2 separate regions of the Homo sapiens genome follow, and region 2 is linked to region 1. Evidence: promoter capture Hi-C in 16 types of primary human blood cells and fetal thymus (Javierre and others, 2016). All regions are on one chromosome and are shown on one strand. Each heading gives the region's core, a stretch centred on a gene start or on the middle of the fragment in contact. The rest is flanking DNA. Distances are from core to core; before and after follow the strand shown.

What was found. The method cuts DNA at HindIII sites, captures the fragments that hold promoters and counts their contacts. A CHiCAGO score of 5 or more calls a contact.
Region 2: a fragment that was not itself captured here is called in contact with the fragment with the promoter of OR10AG1 in region 1 in 1 of 17 cell types (erythroblasts); the score reaches 5.3 in erythroblasts.

What each region holds. Positions count from the first base shown.
Region 1 is chr11:55,967,828-55,973,222 of GRCh38, reverse strand. It overlaps OR10AG1 (olfactory receptor family 10 subfamily AG member 1), which reads left to right and starts at 3,278. Exons shown (of 2, transcript NM_001005491.2): 1 at 3,278-3,331; 2 at 4,716-5,395. The coding sequence starts at 3,316. The HindIII fragment of the contact is 3,009 bases long and covers 2,284-5,292 here.
Region 2 is chr11:56,707,061-56,712,455 of GRCh38, reverse strand. No RefSeq gene overlaps it. Among named protein-coding and RNA genes, the nearest start is that of OR9G1, 11 kb to the right of the region's middle. The HindIII fragment of the contact is 3,926 bases long and covers 712-4,637 here.

The DNA.
Region 1 (5,395 bases), core at 2,029-4,528:
GACCTAGGGAACAATAGGACTATCAGATGGAAGGAAATAGAGTTTTTTAATTACTAACCACCACATTGCACTATGATATGAATGTAAGATACTTCTTTATTTTGATAAGGCGTTGATATATCTGTGGTAATGTTTCAGGTTTTAGACTTGTTCAGGTCACTGTGGTATTTAAATGAATTATGAAATACCCAATTTATCCAATTCTCCTTTTTCATAATACACCAGTGTACTCCAGTGGAAAATGGACATTCAGCTTGTCCCAACCTGGTAATGGAAAGTTTCTGGAAAATCATGAGTACCATTTTCAATTGTAGATGGAAATGAAGAAAGCCCTCTTTGGACATACCAAATCAGTGATAATAAAGAGTACAGAGGAACAATGTAGGAGAGGCATGCTGTGGTATAGAGAAGCAGATTTAGCATGCATAGAGGAAGTTGGTTTTAGAAACATACTGTCAAATGGTCATAGAACGCCAAACAAGAAGAAACAAATGTAACTCCACATAGAAGTAGATTTGGTGCTCCTGATTTTATGCCTGAGAAACATCACCATACACACCCGGAAGTAGCTGCAATAGGGAAAGGATGTTGAAAAGTTTCTTCTTTTCCTTCTGTTTTAAATAATCTAGTTTAAAATGTTTATTTTTGAAGTGGCTTGCATTAAATTTTTTTTTTTTATTGTAGGTTCAGGTGTCCATTTGAAGGGTTGTTCCACATGGGGTTTGTTGTACAGATTTCACCCAGGTATTATTTTTTGTTTTTCTTTTGAGACAGAGTTTCACTCTTGTTGCCCAGTCTGGAGTGCAATGGCACGATCTCGGCTCACCGCAACCTCCACCTCCCAGGTTCAAGTGATTCTCCTGCCTCACCCTCCCTAGCAGCTGAGATTACAGGCATGTACCACTACACCTGGCTAATTTTGTATTTTTAGTAGAGATGGGATTTCTCCATGTTGGTCAGGCTGGTCTCGAACTCCTGACATCAGGTCATCCGCCCTCCTCGGCCTCCCAAAGTGCTGGGATTACAGGCTTGAGCCACAGTGCCTGGCCCTCACCCAGGTATTAAGCCTAGTACCCAATAGTTATTTTTTCTGCTCCTCTCCCTCCTTTCATTCTCCATCCTCAGGTAGGCCCTCCATGTGTCCATGTGTTCCCATCACTTAGCTCTCACTTTTAAGTGAGAGCATGCAGTATTTGGTTTTCTGTTCTTGAGTTAGTTCGCTAAGGATAATGGCCCTCAGCTCCATCCATGTTCCTGCAAAGGACATAGTCTTCTTTTTTAATGGTTTCATAGGATTCCATGATGTATACGTACCACATTTTCTTTATCTAGTCTACCACTGATGGACATATAGATTGATTCCATGTCTATGCTATTGAGAATAGTGCTGCAATGAATGTATGTGTGCATGCATCTTTATAATGGAATGATTTCTATTCCTTTGGATCTAGAGCCAGTAATGTGATTATGGGGTAGAATGGCAGTTCTGTTTTTACCTCTTTCAGGAATCGTCACACTGCTTTCCACAATGGTTGAACTAATTTACACTCCCATCAAGACACTGTAAGTGTTGCCTCTTCACTGCAACCTCACCAGCATCTGTTATTTTTTGACTTTTTAATAATAGTGATTTTGACTGGTGTGAGATGGTATCTATCTCATTGTGGTTTTGATTTGCATTTCTCTAATGATCACTGGTTAGTGATGGAAAGTTTGATTTGCATTTCTCTAATGATCACTAGTTAGTGACCATTAGACCCGCTCAGGGAGGGACGGGCCCACAAACGCTCCGAGGACAACGGCTCTGCAGCAGGGCCAAAGGTGCACTCACTCCGGGAGCAGTGGCACACAGGATGTATGGGCACACTCACAGTGGCAGGGAAGGGAAGGCAATGTCCTCTGGCACACACACTCACTGGCAAAGGGATGCTGGTATTAGTGTTTTTATAATTAGCATAAATAATAGGAGAGAGACATAAATAGGGGGTGGCTATGGGTGAGTGAGTGCAGGCAAAGTGGCCCGAGAGGCTGCAGTGCAGGGAGGGTGCTGGTGGGCTGGCCTGTGTCTGCACAGGCTACTCTGCTGGATCAGTCTGCTGGTCAGCCGGGGGTCCACCAGCACAGGAGCTATGATGTGGCCCCCAGGAGGTACCTGGCTGGGGGCCAAGCTGGGACCCAGGAGAGGCCAGCAAACTGAGTGGTGCTGAAGTTAGAATAGCCTCATGTAGTGGGTGAGACTGCCGTGCAGAATTCAGGTCCCATAGTTCCCATAGGGCTAAAGCTTCCTACGGGAGCAGGTCAAGCCTGGGGGGATGGGCATCCCTGGCCATGCTCCACTACAGACACTTTCACACTAAACCCTCTGGATTCCACACAGGCTGGAGTTCTGCCCCTACCACTTGTCTAAGCATCTCTCCCTGCCAGTTCAAGTGTTACTTGTGGTCCAGGGGTTTTCTCCTGCTGGGATTCGGAGGCTCATGGAAAGAGAGGGTTGCTCCTTGCCCATTCAACTCATGCTTTTGCAGGAGTCACTGGGGGCCAGGAATGCTTCCTGTGTGTGGTACCCCCATGCAGAATTCCTTTCCTTCTGAAGATTTGCTAGGAGTGCACCAATCTTCCTGATGTCCTGGTCCCTCGTGGGCGATGTTCCTCTTGACTGCGTCTAGTGGGACGTCTTGGAGTGGTATATTACATTTTCAATCAGCTGGATACATTTCCCTGGTGCCTTATAGACAACACAGAATGAAATAAATGTATAGATAGATTTTCTCAGCAGAATTAACATGTTTTAATATCCACAAAAAAAGTTAACCTAGGAACAGAGGGTTCCACATCTGAAAAAGAATCTCACCGTTCAATATGTCGAAGACATCAAGCATATCATGTTCGTGTGATTAAACACATGATATATTTTTTAAAGGTCTAGTTAATTTGGATCTGGATAAATTATTGGAATAGAAGTAAGGCAGACAAATCCACACTAAGTATTAGGGGCCTCAAATACACAGTTGGAAAATTTTTAACTTTTTCCTGAAAGTAATACTAGACAACTAAATGGTATTTAATTAACTCCCCTCATGAGGAGATGAAGAGGAGGATAAGTTTACTTAAAGTAGTTTTGAAAAATGAATCAGAATGATTGACAAACAGAAGCAGCCTTCTAGAAATTAAACTGATACTCAAGAGAAGACACATCCCAGGTTGAGTCTGACTATTCCTATATAAGAGCTGTTGCTGTTTGAAACAAGCAAGCGTATTGCAAAATTACAGTTCCCGAGAAAAGGAAGAGCTTAAAAAGTCTGTACAGACAGCTTCATGCAAATCCCTAAAGGTAAGCCATAATTGGGTTGACAGACTATTTTATTTAAGAATAGTTACAAGTTTGTGGATAGAAATGCAACTAATAAAACAGAAAAGCATGAAATTTTGAGACCTTTATCTGAAAATTAATTATTTAACATTTAAATCATGTATCTCTTCACTACAAAGTTAAATAAAATTAGATGTCCAATAATGGTAAAATTGCATTAGTGATGAAAAGTCATTTAAGGCAATTTTGAAAACTAGTACTAATAGAAATGTATAAATATGAGATAGTATTTGTCTGATCACTTTCATTTATCAACGTATTAAGTCAAATGCATTGGCTGACCGGGCTAAAATAGGTATAGGTGCAGCAGATTTGAAGACACAGAAAAAAAGAATTTGTTTAGAAAGTTGGAGAACAAACGTTAAGCAAGTGTAATGGGAATTGACAAGCAGTGATTTCCTCATATTGGATGACATTGACATGAAGTGAAGCAAGACAGTGTGTTTTTGTTTTGTTTTGTTTAATTTTTTGGTCCCATTTATATGCTCTGGCCACTTAGATGGCCAGAGTAAATGTTAGCTGGGTTTAATCAAAGAATTTTACTTTAATAAGGCAACAGGATGAAGGGAAAATAGAGAGAAGGAATTGTATTTGGTTGAAAGGAACTGTATTTGGTTATATGACAATGGAGAAATTCACTTAGATAAAAAAAAGAAATGTAAAAAAAATTGTGATGAATTTCTACATCTTGATTAAGTTATAATTTAATTACTATTTAGCATTCACTGTATTCAGGGCAATAACAGGGGAAGTCAATAAACTGCCTACTGGTATTAGTGTTTTTATATTTAGCATAAATAATAGGAGAGAGACATGAAGTAGAGCAACAATAATGCATGTATTTAGTCTCTCAGTAACCAAGAAATTGTTTAAGATAATTGATTCTCACTGGTGCATAAAAGGAAAAGTTTAAAATTCATTTTGAGTATGAATTAATCGTAATATTCAAGGGCAACATTTTGAATTAAAAAAACTGGAATATGACTACCAATACAAAGAAAAATGATATTCTCAGATGAAATAGTAAAAGCCTACACTATAACTCTACTCTTAAGTGTGAAATAATAAGATGTTATTCCTCCATAATATTTTCTAAACAACAATGCATGCTTCTCAATGCCTCTGGTTGCATTATATCCCAGTATAATAAAATATATTGAGGTTTCATTTCTTAAATTGATTTTAATGCTAAATCAGTTTATTATCTAGAAACAGAGCAAGTACTGGTGAAAATGACTTAAGAGCTTAAGTAAGTATATTCCTGTATCTCATTTAGTTAACCCAAGAGGAAAATATTGTTCAAAATATGGATGAATTAACTGTCTTGAATTTGCTATATCTGCAGATGGAGAGCAAACTAAAAGAGAAAAATCAAATGTGACTACAATAATGGAATTTGTTCTTTTGGGGTTTTCTGATATTCCCAATCTCCACTGGATGCTTTTTAGTATATTTTTACTTATGTATTTGATGATCCTGATGTGCAATGGCATCATAATACTACTAATAAAAATTCACCCCGCTCTCCAGACTCCCATGTATTTTTTTCTTAGCAATTTTTCCCTTTTGGAAATCTGTTATGTAACAATCATTATCCCAAGAATGCTCATGGACATTTGGACTCAGAAAGGAAATATTTCTTTGTTTGCTTGTGCTACACAAATGTGTTTTTTTCTTATGCTTGGAGGCACGGAGTGTCTCCTTCTGACAGTGATGGCCTATGACCGCTACGTGGCTATTTGTAAGCCTTTGCAGTATCCTCTAGTGATGAACCACAAAGTCTGCATTCAGCTGATAATAGCTTCCTGGACCATCACAATTCCTGTAGTAATTGGGGAAACATGCCAAATTTTCCTTTTGCCCTTTTGCGGAACTAACACAATTAATCATTTCTTTTGTGACATCCCGCCAATACTCAAGCTTGCTTGTGGAAACATATTTGTGAATGAGATAACAGTCCATGTAGTAGCGGTGGTGTTTATCACGGTGCCATTTCTGTTGATTGTTGTCTCTTATGGCAAAATT
Region 2 (5,395 bases), core at 1,425-3,924, 740 kb before region 1:
AAAGAACCAGAGAAGCAAGAGCAAACATATTCAAAAGCTAGCAGAAGGCAAGAAATAACTAAGATCAGAGCAGAACTGAAGGAAATAGAGACACAAAAAAATCCTTCAAAAAAATCAATGAATCCAGGAGCTGGTTTTTTGAAAAGATCAACAAAATTGATAGACTGCTAGCAAGACTAACAAAGAAGAAAATAGAGAAAAATCAAATAGATGCAATAAAAAATGATAAAGGGAATATCACCACCGATCCCACAGAAATACAAACTACCATCAGAGAATACTATAAACACCTCTATGCAAATAAACTAGAAAATCTAGATGAAATGGATAAATTTCTGGACATATACACCATCCCAAGACTAAACCAGGAAGAAGTTGAATCTCTGAATAGACCAATAACAGGATCTGAAACTGAGGCAATAATTTATATCCTACCAACCAAAAAAAATCCAGGACCAGATGCATGCACAGCCAAATTCTACCAGAGGTGCAAAGAAGAACTGGTACCATTCCTTCTGAAACTATTCCAATCAAGAGAAAAAGAGGGAATCCTTCCTAACTCATTTTATGAGGCCAATATCTCCTGATACCAAAGCTTGGAAGATACACAACAAAAAAAGAGAATTTTAGACCAATATCCCTGATGAACATTGATGTGAAAATCCTCAATGAAATACTGGCAAACCGAATCCAGCAGCACATCAAAAAGCTTCTCCAGCACAGTCAAGTCGGCTTCCTGCCTGGGATGCAAGGCTGGTTCAATATATGCAAATCAATAAACGTAATCCATACATAAACAGAACCAATGACAAAAACCACATGATTATCTCAATAGATGCAGAAAAGGCCTTTGACAAAATTCAACAGCCCTTCATGCTAAAAACTCTCAATGAACTAGGTATTGATGGAATGTATCTCAAAATAATGAGCTATTTATGACAAAAACTGGAAGCATTCTCTTTGAAAACTGGCACAAGACAGGGATGCCCTCTCTCACCACTCCTATTCAACATAGTGTTGGAAATTCTGGCCAGGGCAATCAGGCAAGAGAAAGAAATAAAGGCATTCAATTAAGAAATGAGGAAGTCAAATTGTCCCTGTTTGCAGATGACATGATTGTATATTTAGAAAACCCCATCATCTCAGCCCAAAGTCTCCTTAAGCTGATAAAGAACTTCAGCAAAGTCTCAGGATACAAAATCAATGTGCAAAAATCACAAGTATTCCTATACACCATTAACAAACAGAAAGAGAGCCAAATCATGAGTGAACTCCCATTCACAATTGCTTCAAAGAGAATAGAATACCTAGGAATCCAGCTTACAAGGGATGTGAAGGGTCTCTTCAAGGAGAGCAACAAACTACTGCTCAATGAAATACAAGAGGACACAAACAAATGGGAAAATGTTCCATGCTTATGGATAGGAAGAAACAATATCATGAAAATGGCCATACTGCCCAAAGTAATTTATAGATTCAATGCTATCTCCACCAAGCTACCAATGCCTTTCTTCACAGAATTGGAAAAAACTACTTGAAAGTTCATATGGAACCCAAAAAGAGTCCGTATTGCCAAGACAATCCTAAGCCAAAAGAACAAAGCTGGAGGCACCACGGTACCTGACTTCAAACTACACTACAAGGCTACAGTAATAAAAACAGCATGGTACTGGTACCAAAACAGATATATAGACCAATGGAACAGAATAGAAGCCTCAGAAATAACACCACACATCTACAACCATCTGATATTTGACAAACCTGACAAAAACAAGAGATGGGGAAAGGATTCCCCAGTTAATAAGTGGTGCTGGGAAAACTGGCTAGCCATATGTAGAAAGCTGAAACTGAATCTCCCTTCCTTACACCTTATACAAAAATTAATTCAAGGTGGATTAAACACTTAAATGTTAAACCTAAAACCATAAAACCCTAGAAGAAAACCTAGGCAATGCCATTCAGGACATAGGCATGGGCAAGAACTTCATGACTAAAACACCAAAAGCAATGGGAACAAAAGCCAAAATAGACAAATGGGATCTAATCAAACTAAAGAACTTCTGCCCTGCAAAAGAAACTACCATCAGAGTGAAAAGGCAACCTACAGAATGGGAGAAAATTTTAGCAATCTACCCATCTGACAAAGGGCGAATATAGAGAATCTACAAAGAACTCAAACAAATTTACAAGAAAAAAACAAACAACCCTATCAAAAAGTGGGCACAGGATATGAACAGACGCTTCTCAAAAGAAGACATCTATGTAGCCAACAGACACATGAAAAATGCCCATCATCACTGGCCATCAGAGAAATGCAAATCAAAACCACAATGAGATACCATCTCACACCAGTTAGAATGGCAATCATTAAAAAGTCAGGAAACAACAGATGCTGGAGAGGGTGTGGAGAAATAGGAATGCTTTTACACTGTTGGTGGGAGTGTAAATTAGTTCAACCATTGTGGAAGACAGTGTGGCGATTCCTCAAGGATCTAGAACTAGAATTACCATTTGATGTAGCAATCCCATTACTGGGTATATACCCAAAGGATTATAAATCATGCTACTATAAAGACACATGCACACGTATGTTTTTTGTGGCACTACAATAGCAAAGACTTGGAACCAACCCAAATGTCCACCAATGATTGACTGGATTAAGAAAATGTGGCACATATACACCATGGAATACTATGCAGCCACAGAAAAGGATCAGTTCATGTCCTTTGCCGGTAAATGGATGAAGCTGGAAACCATCATTCTCAGCAGACTATCACAAGGACAGAAAACCAAACACCACATGTCTCACTCATAGGTGGGAATTGAACAATTAGATCACTTGGACACTGGGCAGGGAACATCACACACTGGGACCTGTCAGGGAGTGGTGGGCTGGGGGAGGGATAGCATTAGGAGAAGTACCTAATGTAAATGATGAGTTGATGGGTGCAGCAAACCTACATGGCACATTTATACCTATGTATCAAACATGCACGTTGTGCACATGTACCCTAGAACTGAAAGTATAAATTTTAAAAAAAGGAAAAAAAAGAGAAACTTCTCTCTTCTTAGTTAATAGCTAATGGTCTACCAATTTTTTGTCTTTCCAAAAAACCATTTTTTTAGTCTGAATTTCATTTAGTTCTGCTCTGATCTTTGTTATTTCTTTTCTTCTGCTAGCTTTGGGTTTGGTTTCTTCTTGTTTCTCTACTTCCTTGAGATGTAACATTAGGTTGTCAATTTGTGATCTTTCAGACAGAGTAACATATGCATTTAGCACTATAAACTTTCCTCTTAGCACTGTTTTTGCTGCATCCCAGAGGTTTTGATAATTTGCGTCACTGTTATCATTAATTTTGAAGAATTTTAAAATTTCAATGTTGATTCCTTTATTAAACCAAAAATCATTCAGGAGCTGATTGTTTAATTTCCATGTGTTTATGTAGTTTTGAGGATTCCTATTGGAATTGATTTCTAGTTTTGTTCTCTTGTGATCTGAGAAGATACTTGATATGATTCTGATATTTTTACATTTGTTAAGACTTGCTTGTGGCCTATCATATAGTCTACCTTGGAGAATATTCCATATGCTAATGAGAAGAATGTATATTCAGCTCTTGGGTAGAATGTTATGTAAGTATCTGTTAGGTTCATTGTTTTTTTTTTTTTGGAGTTCAGTTTAAAGCCCAGTGTTTCTTTGTTGACTTTCTGCCTAGATAATGTCTAGTATTGTCACCAGAGTACTGAAGTTCCCCACTACTATTTTGTTGCTCACTATCTCTTTTCTTAGGCCTAGTAATAATTGTTTTATGAGTTTAGGAGCTCCAGAGTTAGATGCATTTATATTTATAATTGTTACATCTTCTTTTTGGATTGATCCTTTTATCGTTATGTAATGACCTCCTTCATCTTTTTTTTTAGTGTTGTTGCTTTAAAGTCTGTTTTATCTGATACAGGAATAGCTATTCTTGCTTGCTTGCTTTTGGTTTCCATTTGCATGGAATATCTTTTTCACCCCTTTACCTGCAAGAATCCTTACATGTTAGGTGTGTCTCTTGAAGACAGCAGATGTTTGGTTTGTGATTTTTAAAAATTTATTATGCCATTCTGTATTCACATTCAGTGTTAATATTGAGATGTGGGGTACTGTTCCAGTAATCATGTTTGTTGCTACCTAAGACTTTGTTTTCTTCATTGTGTTCTTATTTTAAAGGACCTGTGAATTTTATGCTTTCAAGGTGTCCTATTCTGGTGCATATCAACCTTTTGTTTCAAGATTTAGAAATCCTTTTAGCATTTCTAGTCTGGTAGTGACAAATCTCCTCAACCTTTTTTTGTTTGAGAAATACTTTATTCCTCCTTCATTCATGAAACTTAGTTTTGCTGGATAAAAAATTCTTGGCTGACCATTATTCGGTTTAAGGAGGCTAAAGATAGGACCCCAATCTCTCCTAGCTTGTAAGGTTTCTGCTGAGAAGTCTGCTGTTAGTCTGATAGGTTTGTTTTATAGGTTACTTGGTGCATTTTTTCTTATTGCTGTTAGAATTCTTTCCTTTACGTTGACTTTAGATAGCATGATGACCGTATGCCTTGGTGATGACCTTTTTGCAGTGAATTCCCCAGGAGTCCTTTAAGCTTCTTGTGTTTGGTTGCCTAAATGTCTTGCAAGGCCAGGGAAGTTTTCCTCAATTATTCCCTCAAAAAAGGTTTTCAAACTTTTTGCCTTTCCTTCTCAATCAGGAACACAAATTATTTTTAGGTTTGGATGTTTTACATAATCTTATATTTCTTGGAGACTTTGTTGATTTCTTTTTATTCTTTTTCCTTTAGTTTTGTATGATTGGGTTAATTCAAACCCTTGTCTTCAAATTCTGAAATTCTTTTTTCTACACTGTCTAGTCTATTATTAAAATTTTCTGTGGAATTTTGTTATTCTTTAAATATGTCTTCAATTTTCAACAGTTCTGATTGTTTTTTCTTCAAAATATCTATCTGTTTAGAAAACTTTTCAGTTGTATTCTTGTTTTAAAAATTATTTTACACTAGTTTTTACCTTTTTCATGTAAATCCTTGAGTAGCTTAATAATCAACCTTTCGAATTCTTCATCTGGTATGTCAAAAATTTCATCTTGGTTTGGATCCATCGCTAGAGAGCTTGTGTGATCTTTTGAGAGTGTTTTTTTAAAAACATTACCAGAATTACTTTTCTGGTTTCTTCTCAGGTGGGTAGACTATTTGTTCTAATTATTTTTAAACTTATTTTTTATTTGACTGTGCTGTATTTTTTGTTTCTTTTTTATGCCCTTGGGGATGTGACTTTACTGTTTATAGTTTATTATTGTAATTTAGTTCAGCTCTGAAAGTTTTAAAGGTTGAAGAGTATATGATTCCTTGG